3 separate regions of the Homo sapiens genome follow, and all the other regions are linked to region 2. The links are contacts of gene promoters, found by promoter capture Hi-C in human tissues and cell types (Jung and others, 2019). All regions are on one chromosome and are shown on one strand. The core of a region is centred on a gene start or on the middle of the fragment in contact, and the rest is flanking DNA. Distances in the headings are between cores, read along the strand shown.

The links. Contacts are between HindIII fragments. The study calls those that stand out against the background at their distance.
Region 1: the fragment with the promoter of BPTF here is called in contact with the fragment with the promoter of C17orf58 in region 2 in 1 of the 25 tissues and cell types used here (hippocampus).
Region 3: a contact is called between a fragment that was not itself captured here and the fragment with the promoter of C17orf58 in region 2, in 2 of the 25 tissues and cell types used here (H1 embryonic stem cells and lymphoblastoid cells).

The regions. Positions count from the first base shown.
Region 1 is chr17:67,822,352-67,827,072 of GRCh38, reverse strand. BPTF (bromodomain PHD finger transcription factor) reads right to left here and starts at 1,570. Exons shown (of 28, transcript NM_182641.4): 1 at 736-1,570. The coding sequence starts at 1,348. RefSeq lists enhancers at 697-966, 929-1,624, 1,625-2,322 and silencers at 1,017-1,216, 1,397-1,446, 1,647-1,716. The HindIII fragment of the contact is 39,315 bases long and covers 1-4,721 here.
Region 2 is chr17:67,995,001-67,999,649 of GRCh38, reverse strand. It overlaps C17orf58 (chromosome 17 open reading frame 58), which reads left to right and starts at 3,181. Exons shown (of 4, transcript NM_001382359.1): 1 at 3,181-3,527. The coding sequence starts at 3,452. RefSeq lists a silencer at 3,862-3,951. The HindIII fragment of the contact is 9,773 bases long and covers 2,976-4,649 here.
Region 3 is chr17:67,848,274-67,853,113 of GRCh38, reverse strand. All of the region lies in intron 1 of BPTF (bromodomain PHD finger transcription factor), which reads right to left. Among named protein-coding and RNA genes, the nearest start is that of BPTF, 25 kb to the right of the region's middle. The HindIII fragment of the contact is 3,560 bases long and covers 1-3,145 here.

The DNA.
Region 1 (4,721 bases), core at 321-2,820, 170 kb after region 2:
AAATAATTCTGAATCGGATGAATAACCAAATTTGGTTGGGTCTTGTTTGGCTTTCTGCGTTGCTTTTTAATCAGCCATTTAACAGCAACTGTTGCACGGGCCCATTAGCACTCGAAGAATAAAAACAAACACACAGGACCAGATAAGGTTCCCCTACTAACCCAAATGATCCGTTTCCTTAACACAATTTTAAAACCACAGCTAGGGGTGTGAAAACGCATTTTTTTGTGCGTGTTTGTGTACCACAATCTGTCCAAATCCTTAATTCCCTTTTAAGTAACAGATATATAATAAAAATCCGAAAGAAACCACATTAGAAATGCAAAGAGGTTTGCAAAACAAGAGGCTTCTTTCATTCCAGAAAACCACACCAAAACAAGGGGAGAAAAATGAATGCAATGGATATGTGTTTGCCAAAGTTTCAATCCTGCCCGGTGGAGACACTGCACTGGCACAAATTTTGAAGAGGAAAAAAAGGGGGTTGGGGGGGGGAGAGAGAGCGAGCGAGTGTGGCCTGCAAACTGCAACAATGCAATCTCCATTTTGAACAATGCGCCTCTTTCCTCTTGTAAATCTAGTTTTTTGCCACTTGATGTGCCGTCGCATTTCCCCTCTGTTTGGGGGGGAGGCGGGGTTGGGGGGAGATCGGAGCAGGATGCACAGCACACGAGTGAGCAAGGGGGGAGGGCAGAGGAGGTGGGGAAGGAGTCTGCAGCAACTGGGCTGGGTGGGTACCTGGAGTGCTGCTGTAGGTACTATGGCTCCTGAAGCTGCTTTCCGTGCAGTAACTGGCGTCGTCGTCGTCGTCTTCCATCTCCTCCGGATAATCGGAGTCATCGTCGTCCTCTTCCATCTCATCCTCCTCGTCGTCCTCAGAATCCTGGGTCTCCTCGGCGTCGCCGTCCTCCTCCTCCTCCTCCTCGGAGACCATGTCCTCCTCTTCCTCCTCCTCCTCGCTCTCGTGGTCATCGTACACCACTTTGTTGACGGCCCTCCGGGCCGCGGTGGTCCGGGCCAGGTGGCCGCCGCCGCCCCCGCCCCCCGTCCTGCCGCCCCCGCCTCCTCGCCCCCCCCGGCCCGGGGCGCTGGTGCTGGGGGGGGCCGGCGGCGGCGGCGGCGGCTTCCTCCGGCTACTGCTGCCCCCCCTGGGCGAGCTCAGCCGCGTCTTGGGCGCCACCTCAGCCTGGGCGGCGGCCCACCTGCCCCGGCTGCTGCCGCGGTGCCGCGAGCGGAGCCCCCCGATGGGTCCGGACGTGGGCGGCGGCGGCGGTGGCGGCGGGGCCGGGGCGCAGCGCTCCGCAGCGGGAGCCGCGGGCTGCTTGGGCGGCCTGCCCCGCCGGCCCCTCATGTCGGAGCCGAGGCGGGGGGAGAAGGAAAGCGAAGGGGGAGGGGCGGGCGCAGGGGGGGCGGTGGGGAGCGCCGGGGCCGGGTGGGGAGGCCCGCGGGGCCGGGCGGGAGGGGCCCGGCCGACGGAAGCGGGTGGAGGGAGAAGGCTCAATCCGAATTGCTGGGGCCCCACTCCGGATCGCCTTCAGCCGCCATCTTGTTTCTTCCCTCTCGCTCGGTGACTGGGGGAACCGACAGCGGCCGCAGGCCCAGAGCGCGGTCACGTGAGCTGCGCCGCCGACGAGCCTGGGACGGAGCGAAGCGGCGCGGCGGCCGCTAGGGGGAGCGCGGGAGCGTCGAGTCGGGGGCGGGGAGCCCTGGGCGCCTGGGCTCGGCACAGCGCGGTGCGGCTGGACTCCGGGCGCGGGTGGCGCGGCAAAACTCCGGGCGCAGGTGGCGCGGCTGAGAGGGGCGCGCAGCTCGCGAAATGCCCGGCGTCAAAGGCCTTCGGAGACCAAAGTCTCCGCGGACCGCTGGCTGGAGCCCAAAGCCGGCCGGACCTCCTCCCCGCGTCTCCCCTTTCGCGGCTCGGAGAGGAAGGCAAGGGAGCCCCCAAATATCATTCCCTTCCCTCCCCCTATGGAAACTGATGCTGAAAGAGCCAGCGAGAGAAAGAAAAAAAAAAGTCGCGGAGAGGGGCGGCCCAAGCGACCGAGGGCACCGGGCAGCGCCAGCGACAGAGGGAAATTAGTCGAGGGGACAGAGAGACAAGCCCCCTGAACTTAGGAAACTCTGAAGCATGGAGCTGGAGTCCAGAAAATGACTCCAATGACAACTGCTCCGGATCTGTGCCAGGAGCCACGCCCCGGGCTGCCACGCCCGGAGGGAGGGGCGCCCTAAGACCTGTAGCGTGGAATCCGCACTGGGAAAGCCTCAGTAAACTCCAGAACGCAACTACTGCACGTTCCAATGTCCCGCCACCTTCCCAGTGCCCCAGCTAGGACTTCGATCACCTCAGCAAGAACTTACCTCTCCTTTGCAGTGGAAAAGAGGGAATCCTGCCTAAAACCTACTTCACGGTGTTAAATGTTTGTATTATCGGGAAATAACCTTAATTTATTGACCTGACAAGTCACTAGGTTTCAGCTTAGCCCAAAGGACGAATCATGATGACATTTCAGGCACCCTCAAACCTTATCACAGCGACTCAACCCTGAGTGGTTGAGGTCAGCTCTTTAGATAAGAGAAAGGTGTTATAAACATATGAATATTTATTGAGAGAAGTGACAACCGAAAAGTAATTTAAAGAAAAATAGTTGGCCGGGCGTGGTAGCTCACACCTGCAATCCCAGTCCTTTGAGAGGCCAAGGCCGGATGATAGCTTGAGGTCAAGAGTTCAAGACCAGCCTGGGCAACATAGCAGGACCTCGTCTTTAGAAAAAATTTGAAAAATTAGCCGGGCATGGTGGTGTGCACCTGTGGTCCCAGCTAGCGAGAGGCTGAGGTGGGAGGATTGCTTGAGCCTGGGAGGTGGATGTTGCAGTGAGCCGTGATTGCACCACTGCACTCCAGCTTGGGTGACAGAGCAAGACCCTGTCTCAATTTTTTTTAAAAAAGATGCTGGGCGCGGTGGCTCACGCCTGTAATCCCAGCACTTTGGGAGGCTGAGGAGGGCGGATCACCAGGGCAGGAGTTTGAGACCAGCCTGGCCAATATGGTGAAACCCCATCTCTACTAAAAATGCAAAAGTTCTGTACTAAAAATACAAAAGTTAGCCAGGCGTGGTGGTGCGTGCCTGTAGTCCCAGCTACTCCAGAGGCTGAGGCAGAAGAATCGCTTGAGCCTGGGAGGTGGAGGTTGCAGTGAGCCGAGATCGCACCACTGCACTCCAGCCTGGCAACAAAGCAAGACTCCGTCTCAAAAAAATAAAAATAAAAATATCTAACAGAATTCTGCATACCAAATGGCTTATTTCAGTCTTGTTAGGAAAATGGAACACATATGTGAAATGAAAATTAAAATACAAGCACTAATTGCCAGAGAAATGCATTCAATACAATTTGGTCGAGCTCTAAGGGTGACAAATGTGTATATGTCTCCAGGGACCAGGTAAGTAATGTAAGTCAATAAAGTAGGCAAGATGAAGACCTAGGCCAATGGAGGTGCCCATATTTTGTTTGAAGAGGGTGGTCAGGCACGGTGGCTCAGGCCTGTAATCCCAGCACTTGAGGAGGCCAGGTGGGCGGATCACTTGAGCCCAGGAGTTCGAGATTATCCTGGGCAACATGGTGAAATCCTGTCTACTAAAAATACAAAAATTAGCTGGGCATGGTGGCTCATGCGTGTAATCCCAACTACTTGGGAAGCGGACAGGAGAATCGCTTAAACCCAGGAGGCAGAGGCTGCAGTGAGCCAAGATCGTGCCACTGGACTCCAGTCTGGGTGACACAGCAAGACTCTATCTCAAAAAAAAAAAAAAGGTAGTGAGGAACTGAGAATTTTATTTGGAGACACAAAAATTGAAACCTTAAATATGCATATCCCAGCGATCTTGGTTCACTGCAAACTCCTAAGCTCAAGCAATCCACCCGCCTCCCTCCCAAAGTGCTGGGATTACAAGCTACAGCCACTGTGCCCAGCCACCCTCTTTAAACAAAATACGGGGCCAGGGCCGGGCGTGGTGGCTCATGCCTGTAATCCCAGCACTTTGGGAGGCAAAGGCAGGCAGATCACTTGAGGGCGGAAGTTCGAGACCAGCCTGGTCAACATGGTGAAACCCTGTCTCTACTAAAAACTAGCCAGGTGTGATGGAGCACCGGTAGTCCCAGCTATTTGTAAGACTGAGGCAGGAGAATCGCTTAACCTGGGAGGTGGAGGTTGTAGTGAGTGCAGATCACACCACTGCACTCCAGCCTGGGCAACAGAGCGAAAGTCTGTCTAAAAAAAAAAAAGCGGGGGGCACTTCCATTGGCCAAGTCCTCATCTTCCCCTACTTTGTTGACTTTCATTACTTACCTGGTTCCTGGAGGCATATACAGATTTGTCACCCATAGTGCTCAACCAAATTATATTGAATACATTTATTTGGCAATTAGTGCTTGTATTTTTTCATTTCACATATGTGTTATATTTTCCTATCTAGATTGAAATAAGCCACCAGGCGCAGTGGCTCATGCCTGTAATCCCAGCACTTTGGAAGGATGAGGCGGGCGGATCACCTGAGGTCAGGGGTTCGAGATCAGCCTGACCAACATGGTACAACCCCATCTCTACTAAAAATACAAAAATTAGCTGGACGTGGTGGCACTTGCCTGTAATCCCAGCTACTCTGGAGGCTGAGACAGGAGAATCGCTTGAACCCAGGAGACGGAGGTTGCAGTGAGCCAAGATCGCAC
Region 2 (4,649 bases), core at 1,932-4,431:
CACACTCAAAATACCAGAAATTATCAAGGAAGGGAATGCCAGTTGGTCTCTTGGGTTCTTCCTCCTGACAGGTATACACACCTATTGCAGAGACAAACACTTAGGCTGTCAGAAACCAATACTGTTAAACATTCCAATCAGGTGACAAACTCCCCAGGCTCTGGTTTATATTACCAAGCACCCTGAGGATAACTTGGCTTCCTCTGTGGCTTGTTTATAGAAAGAGAATGCTACCCAGGCTGACATGAGTTTGCATTTCTGATTTGATTTCTCATTGTAAATTAATAAACTGGCATTCTGGCTACATAGATCAGTCTCTTTGAACTCTTTGTACCTTCCACCATTAGTGTGGTTTCTTTTTTTTCTTCTTCTTCTTTTTTGAGACGAAGTCTCGCTCTTGTCCCCTAGGCTGGAGTGCGATGGTGCGATCTCGGCTCACTGCAACCTCCGCCTCCCGGGTTCAAGCGATTCTCCTGCCTCAGCCTACCAAGTAGCTGGGATTACAGGCACCTGCCACCATGCCTGGCTATTTTTGTATTTTTAGTAGAGACAGGGTTTCACCATGTTGGTCAGGCTGGTCTCAAACTCCTGACCTCAGGTGATCCGCCCACCTCAGCCTCCCAAAGGGCTGAGATTACAGGCGTGAGCCACCGCGCCTGGCCCATTAGTGTGATTTCTAAGGCTCAAGCCAGACACTGCCCAAGACCCAGGACTGGACTCTGGCAGGTTCTTCCAGCTGGTGCCACCCCAGGAGCCTCTGGGAGCCCCTGGGAGCCATCCAGCCTGCTCCCTGCCTCTACATTTCAGGGTGTGGGTTTCAGGGCATTCACAACATTCCTGCAACAGAAGAGTTTCGGGAACACCCCCAATAGGTTCTGGGTGATTTGAATGTAATGGTAAGAAGGTATGTTAGAGATGTGGTTGTAACTGAGAAATCTTAAGCCTAGTGAATTTTATTCCACTTGACTTAAAGAAAGAGCACGTGAAAGAAGGGGATCTGAGGACATCTATAAACAGGGCCCCAAGGGCATGAATTTACTAGTGTTTATCTGGTCTTGTCTAGGGTCTGGAGACCCTGACTCTGGTATACCCAAGCTTTGCAGGGGCTGTAGAGGTTTACTCTTTTGGATGGAGAATATAATTCACTCCTCTAACACCTGAATGAGGGAAGATTAGCTCATCTCCTTAGCTGCAATTTGATTTAATGCTCAACAGGCAAATTTCTTTTCTTTTTTTTCTTTTTCTTTTTCTTTTTTTTTTTTTTTTTTTGAGACAGAGTCCTGTGCTGTTGCCCAGGCTGGAGTGTAGTGGCGCAGTCTTGGCTCACTGCAACTTCTGCCTCCTGGGTTCAAGCGATTCTCCTCCCTCAGCCTCCCAAGTAGCTGGGATTACAGGTGCCCGCCACCATGACTCGCTAATTTTTGTATTTTTAGTAGATATGGGGTTTTACTATGTTGGCCAGGCTGGTCTCGAACTCCTGACCTCGTGATCTGCCCACCTTGGCCTCCCAGAGTGTTGGGATTACAGGTTGAGCCACCGCACCCAGCCAGCAAATTTATTTTCTTTGATTTAATGCTCAACAGGCAAACTTCTTTCCTCCTCCTCCTCCTCTTCCTCCTCTCCTTCTTTTTTTTTTTTTTTTTTTTTTTTGAGACAGAGTCTCACTCTGTCACCCAGGCTGGAGGGCAGGGCAGTGGCGCCACACTGCAAGCTCCGCCTCCCAGGTTCACGCCAGTCTCCTGCCTCAGCCTCCTGAGTAGCTGGGACTACAGGCGCCCGCCACCACGCCCGGCTAATTTTTTGTATTTTCAGTAGAGACGGGGTTTCACTGTGTCAGCCAGGATGGTCTGGATCTCCTGGCCTCGTGATCGACCCACCTTGTCCTCCCAAAGTGCTGGGATTACAGGCGTGAGCCACCACACCTGGCCCTGCTCTCCTTCTTCTTCTTCTTCGTTCTCCTCCTCCTCCTCTTTTTTTTTTTCTTTTTGAGACAAAAGTCTCACTCTATCACCCAGGCTGGAGTGCAATGGCATAGTCTCAGCTCACTGCAACCTTTGCCTCCCAGGTTCAAGCGATTCTCCTGCCTCAGCCTCCTGAGTAGCTGGGACTACAGGTGTGTGCCACCACACCCTGCTAACTTTTTTGTAATTTTAGTAGAGACAGGGTTGCACTAATTTGGCCAGGCTGGTCTTGAACTCCTGACCTCGTGATCCGCCTGCCTTGGCCTCCCAAAATGCTGGGATTACAGGCGTGAGCCACTGTGCCTGGCTCCTCCTCTTTCTTTTCTTTCTTCTTCTTCTTCTTCTTCTTTTTTTTTTTTTTTTTTTTTTGAGACAGGGCCTCTCTCTGTCACCCAGGCTGGAGTGCAGTGGCACAATCTCGGCTCACTGCAACCTCCACCTCCTAGGCTCAAGTGATCCTCCCACCTCAGCCTCCCAAGTGGCTGGGACCACAGATGCGAGCCACCATGCCTGGCTAATTTTTGTATTTTTTGTAGAGACAGGTTCTCTCCATGTTGCTCAGGCTGGTCTTGAACTCCTGAGCTCAAGAGATCCTCCTGTCTCGGGCTCCCAAAGTACTGGGATTACAGGCATGAACCACCCTGCCTGGCCTCAACAGGCAACATTCTGATTAATAATTAGACCTCTGGGCCCGGCGTGGTGGCTCATGCTGTAATCCCAGCACTTTGGGAGGCCAAGGTGGGTGGATCACTTGAGGTCAGGAGTTTGAGACCAGCCTGGCCAACACGGTGAAATCCCGTCTCTGCTAAAAATACAAAAATTAGCCTCGCATGGTGGCATATGCCTGTAATCCCAGCTACTTGAGAGGCTGAGGCACGAGAATCGCTTTAGTCCGGGAGGCAGAGGTTACAATGAGCTGTGATATATAATGAAACAGTTTTACTAAGGAAGCAGTGACTTGGTTTCTCTAGAAATTGCCTAACACACACATTCCAGGATACATTCTCTGTCATCTGGAATCTCCCTTCCACAAACCCACGCTGTCTTAAGCACTATTTTCCTATTTGTTGTTGACCTAATCTAGAAAAAAGCTCCCGTCACTCGTTCTCCCCCACCCAGTCCCTCAGTCCCGAAACACGCTTATTCTCTGCACTTGTCACCCCACCCTTTGCTGCCCCCACCCCAGCGCGCAAACGCACACAGGTTTAAAGTTTAGGCTGTGATGCTCTCCTCGCCCGCAGATCACAGGACAGACATTCCCGGGGACAACTTTGCAAGGCCATGTGCTCGTCCTCCTTAGGAAGGAAGAGGGAGAAATCCCTGCGGCTCGGTTTTGTTCCAATGGTCTGCTCAGCGAGTGATTCCCGTTTCCCCAAAGGCTGCCCCTCATTAGCATGAACGGGGGTGGGGGTGTGGAGAAGGGGTTGGGGGAGAGAAAGCAAGCAAAAGACCAGGCTCACTTTTAGAGCCTGGGAACCCTGTCTGCAAAAATGACAGCTAGAGCTTTCTGGCTCCTCTGTTTGATCGTCGGATCATCCCCCGAAGCACCGGTGGCGGAGAGAAAAAGTAAGATTGGTGTAGTGCGGGGCCCTGGGAGCGGAGCGGGGATCTGTGGGGGGGAGCTGGGAAGGAGGCTCAGTGAAACGTGGGACGAGGAGGGGGGTCAGAGCTCGCAAGAGAGGACACCCCGGGTCTGCGTTCGTCTTATAAAGGAGCAAAGTGTGTCCCCAAGGTTTCGTGTCTCTTGGCAGCCTTTTCGGAAAGAAGCCAATTTAGCTACTGAAATGATCCCGAGCAAGCCGGGCAGGCTGGGGAAAACTTTGCATGTTAAGTAGTTGCTCCATCACGGAGGAGGGAAAGTGTCAAAAGGGGTCGTGGCGCGCCTTTCGGGAGCCGTGCCCGGGCCGGGCTCGCAGGACGCCGCGGGGTCCGCCCCCCTCGACTGGGTGAGCAGGGGCTGCGGGGGGCGCTGTGGAGGGCTGGGGGGAAGCGGGGCCGAAATCCGGCAGCCCCGGGCACTTTGCTCTCCCCGCAGCCCCAGCGCACAACCTTGGGACACCTGAGCCGGGGTTTAACTAACACGCACACACTCTTATACTTCATGCACGAAATGAAATTAAGTTACTCAGCCCGTGAAGAAATGAGGGGTTCTCTGGGGGATCGTGTTTTTGTTTTGCTTTTATTTGGATGTTCTGTCGGCTTCGCTATCTCTGGGAAAAACAGTTTCCGTACCTCACAGGGCAATTTACTCTGGGTTATTTTTCCACATGGAAATTGAATGACTTCAGTGGCATTTAACCCAAATATCAGACAATCTTTCCCATGACAACAGATGGTTATATCAATGGGGAAGCAGTTGTGAGGTCAACAGTTGACAGTCAGGAATTGGATATCCACCAGAACTTTATTCAGCTGTGCATGGCACAACCGTTTAACAACATAATGAGTCAGAATCAACCTCTTTGCAAAAACATGAACTCTAACCAGCTATTATTGCTGGGTGAAAGCTGATTTTAAAGCAGATTATCGATTTGGCAAGACTGATCAACTTTAAATGAAGTGTTGCCAGAGCTGCAAATGGGCAGATCCATCTCTTTAATGCAAGGGGAGAGAAAAATAAAGGCTAGTTCTTGCCTGTTTGGAGGGCACTGGGACCCAGGCAAGCAAGGAGGTGAAATTGTGTAACTG
Region 3 (4,840 bases), core at 116-2,615, 140 kb after region 2:
CCTAGGCTGGAGTATGGTGGCGTGACCTCGGCTCACTGCGACCTCCGCCTCTCAAGTTCAAGTGAGTCTCCTGCCTCAGCCTCCTGAGTAGCTGGGACTACAGGCAGGCGCCACCACCCCAGCTAATTTTTGTATTTTTTAGTAGAGATGGGGTTTCACCATATTGGCTAGGCTGGTCTCGAACTCCTGACCTCAGGTGGTCCACCCACCTCGGCCTGCCAAAGTGCCAGGATTACAGGCGTGAGCCACCGCACCCGGCCCATTCTGATCTATTTTTGGGAGAGTATAAATTGGTTGGATTTTTAGAAGGTAATTTGGCAAACATCTATCTGAATGTATGTCCCTTTGACCCTGTAATTCCACCTCCTGGAACTTATCCTGTAGTCACACATTCATTTAAGTACAAAATATTTAATTCAATATAGTTTACAAAAGCTGAAATTTTTATGTGGGTTTTCTTTTTAATCTAAATATACATAAATAGTCAAATGAATTATGATGCATCTACAGAATGGAATCAAATTCAGTAGTGGTAAAATTCCTATGTGTTAAAATGAAACAATCTTTAAGATACAGTGTTAAGCAGAAGGAATGAACAGCTACAGAACAATGAATAGAATGTCATTTGAATAAATAAACTAAAAATAAAAAGGAGGGCAAGGGGATAGTGATAAGGTATATATATATCTAAGAGGTCATATAAGAATCTTTTTATAGTACTTGCTTCTGGGGAGAGTCGGGGGACAGGAAAAGAAGACTAATTTCTTTTTACTTTTTTATACTTTAAAAAATAATTCATACATGTATTTTCGTTATAAAATTTTAAAAGAAAAAATTGGACAGGTATCTATAAAAATATAAAAATATTAATACTCAAATCAATAAAATGATGCTGCCACTAATGACTACTCATAGTCTTGTATAAATACAACGTCATTATACTAAATTCAAAGATTCAAGTTTATAGAATTGAACATAGACTACAGTGTTTAAAGAGAGAACGACATTAAATTAAACCACTTAAGCCCCTCAACTGTCAATCATTAGTATTAGCAAGTCAAGTCATTTCACTTCTTCACAGAAGTGTATTTAGAATATGCCACTGAGCATTACACTCATTATCAATTTCAACACTAATCTGGTATCTCTCTACCAGGTGAATTATATTAATTTTCCTGCATTAAAAAAAAAAAAGGACCCCAATCTCACTAGTTAGCAAGGAAAGGCAAAGTAAAACCACAATGAGATAACTGTTCTCAGACTCCTCAATGGAAAAAAATTTAACAGTTTAACCAAACAAACTGTTGGGAAGGATGCAAAACAATGGAAACACCAGTATACCACCACTGGGACTGTAAACTGGTATCACAACTTCAGAGAGAAATTCAGGATTGTCAAGTTTAAGGTTCTGCTTATAACTGAACAGCCTGCACACCTGTTTGCCCACAACCAAAGTAAGAAATATATTTTACATCTTATCCAGTACACATACCCCTGAAAACAAAAGCTCTATAAAACACTATTCTCACTACATGCCTTATACTAATATCTTCTCTCCTACCAACATTTTCTATTCTATTCTCTTTCTACTTTTAAAACATGCTGCTTGCAGCTCACAATTAGAAAAACACTTCTCTAGAGAAACTATCCTTATGCATACGCATGTGGAGGAAAAGTTAAATATTAAATCTGAACTCAATTGAACGTGCACACAAACAATGGTCACCAAGTCTTGGAAAAGGTTGTGTGAGCCCCTTGAGGCGTTCATCCAGCACTGTTTCAGAGAAATCTCTATTTCAGTCTATTCCTATATGGTGGTTATTAAAAAAAAAAAAAAAAAAGCAGAAAATCGCAAAAACAAGTTGACCTTTTTGTGTTCCTTGAGCCCAGTCACGAAGGCCCCTTGTGACTGGACCTCATGCCAAACAACTCGTTACAAAAAGAGCTAGGGTCCCAGACTCTGCCGAAGCTTCATGAGACCTCTCCTTGTCTGTGCACAGATAAGTGGCCGACTCTGGAGCCCAGGCTGTTGCTTCCCAGTCTGGTGATGAATCCTCCATAGTCTGGTGAGTGTAAATATATATACCTCTTTTCCCTTCTCCTCTTTCCATTACAATTTGCTTATTGTATCAATTTGCTTATTATATCATTTGTTTATTATATCTGCATTGCCATTTACATGGGATAAAGCTTGTTTACCCTTAAAGGTATTGTGTGTGTGTCTTTTCTTCTCCCCTAGCATGTTTCCCACACAGAACAATGCAGAGCATTTAATATGTTTATAAAAGCAAAGAAACAATCAACCAAGCTGAAAACAACCAAAATGTCCATCAACAGGAAAACAGTCAAATTGTGGCTTATTCATTGGATAGAATTCTGTAGATCAATTTTGAGTAATTTAGGGCTATGCATATCAACATGGATCAATCTTAAAAACAAAAACACAGGGCCAGGTACAGTGGCTCATGCCCGTAATCCTAGCACTTTGGGAGTCCAAGGTGGGCAGATCACGAGGTCAGGAGTTCCGGACTAGCCTGGCCAATATGGTGAAACCCCGTCTCTAAGAAAAATACAAAAATTAGCTGGGCATGGTGGCACACACCTGTACTCCCAGCTACTTGGGAGGCTGAGGCAGAAGAACCGCTTGAACCCAGGAGACGGAGGTTGCAGTGAGCCGAGATCATGCTACTGCCAGCCTAGGCAACAGAGCGAGACTCTGTCTCAGAAAACAAACAAACAAACAAAAACACCATGAGGCAAAAGAAAAGTTAAGTTTTACAATATAAAACCATGGAAATACAGTTTATATACTACTTACGGATGAATACATACATGAACTAGTAGTTAATATCACCACTAGAATATAATCTCCTTAACGACAGGGATTTTTTAAGTTTGCCAATGTTAAGTAGTGGCTAGCATATAATAAGCTATTAAATAAACATTTATTACAAGAATTAGTAGTTTTGAAAGTGCTAGCCCATGCACTTACACAAGAAAATGATATCCTTGCATTATCTGACAACATTAGAAATGTGTTTTGATTTCTACGTAAGTAAATACAGGACTACAGTGAGAAGCCTTAAAACAGTGGTTCTCAAACTTCAGAGTGCATATGTCACTGATTCAATAGGCCTAGAATAGAGTCTGAGAACCTGAATTTTTTTTTTTCTGAGATGGAGTCTTGCTCTGTTGCCCAGGCTGGAGTGCAGTGGCACGATCTCAGCTCACTGCAACGTCTGTCACCTAGGTTCAAGTGATTCTCCTGCCTCAGCCTCCCGAGTAGCTGGGACTACAGGTGCCCACCACCATGCCCGGCTAATTTTTTTTGTATTTTTAGTATAGAAGGGGTTTCCCCATGTTGGCCAGGCTGGTCTCAAACCCCTCACCTCAAGTGATCCACCCGCCTTAGCCTCCCAAAGTTATGGGATTACAGGTGTGAGCCACCACGCCCAGCCGAGAACTTGCATTTCTAACAATTCCCAGGTTGTGCTGTTCTGGCGAACCATACTCTGAGAAACACCTCCCTATATCCTGATAGGTTATTTTCCCTAAGATCCAGATAAGTAAAAATTAATACACATTAGATGAAATTCCAGAAGTTACCTTCAAACCTTGCTATTCATTGAATGTCATGAAAATACTGGAAAAACAAACAAAAAATAAAAAACAAAAAACTTGCTACTCGACAAGTGACTGGCATTATCATGTTTGAGAGAAATTCAGAATCTCAGGCCCAAGCCCAGGCCTACTAAATTAGGATCTGCAGTTTCTCACGATCTTCAGGTGATTTATATGGTCACTGAAGTTTGAAAAGCTGCCCTGAAATGGAGGTGCAGCAAAAATCATCTGGTAAATTGTTAAAAGTAATCTCAAATGCAACCCAAATTCACAGAACCCCAGGTGAAGCTCAGTAATCTATATTTTTATCCTTCTCCCCAAATGATTCTGATGTGCGGCAAGTTTGAAAACCACTACTTTAAAGAAAATGGATACTCCCCTTACCAAGCAGAAAGGGTTTTGGAAACTCATGCAAGGGAAGCAAAAAGATGCCTCAGGAGGCACGATTACAACAGGATTGATGCAAAGGGAAGCTGAAGCTTAACCAAAGACATTAATGTACGCCCACAAAAGAAACTGCTAAGGAAGTCAAGTGGTCTGCATGAATTCTGAAGAAAAATGGAGAATCAAAGAACAAAATTTGTCAATGAATTTCCAGCACAGTCTAGGTTAAGGGAGTGAATTTCCTGACTGAATGGCAAACTCTGGACCACCTGATAGCTTATTACCTCGACGGAGTAATTATGTTACAATGTATAGGTATTCTAATTAGAATGACCTGGCAGTTATTGAGACAAAATTTTCTGCTCCTTTGTATTCTGTAACACAAAAGGGATCTACATGGATGTTCTCTTCTCTGAACTGTTCGGATGAACTGGTCAACAGCACTCATCATGCCTTGGTTTTTAAATACGCACTGTAGTCATAATCTGTTAATTAATTTCTCATATTTTTAATTTTAAAAAAAAGTTTGCCTACATATTTTAGACAGAAATTGCCTTACTTTGCTGAAATTCTGAGAAACCCTAGACAGTTTTCAAGGCCGGGCTCAAATGTCACCTCTACTACCCTTTGCTGTGCCTCCAGGTGCTGTGCTTCTGACACTTTGTACGGTCCTCCATGACAGCGTGAGCACAATTATATTACAGGCAATTACTCATGCCCCCTGGCTCATTTGTTGACTCCTTTAGAGGACAGATCATGTTTTAGTTATTGTAGCAACTAAAAAAATATTTGTTCAACCAATGACACCCATAAACAAAACTACCTGCCGAGGGCA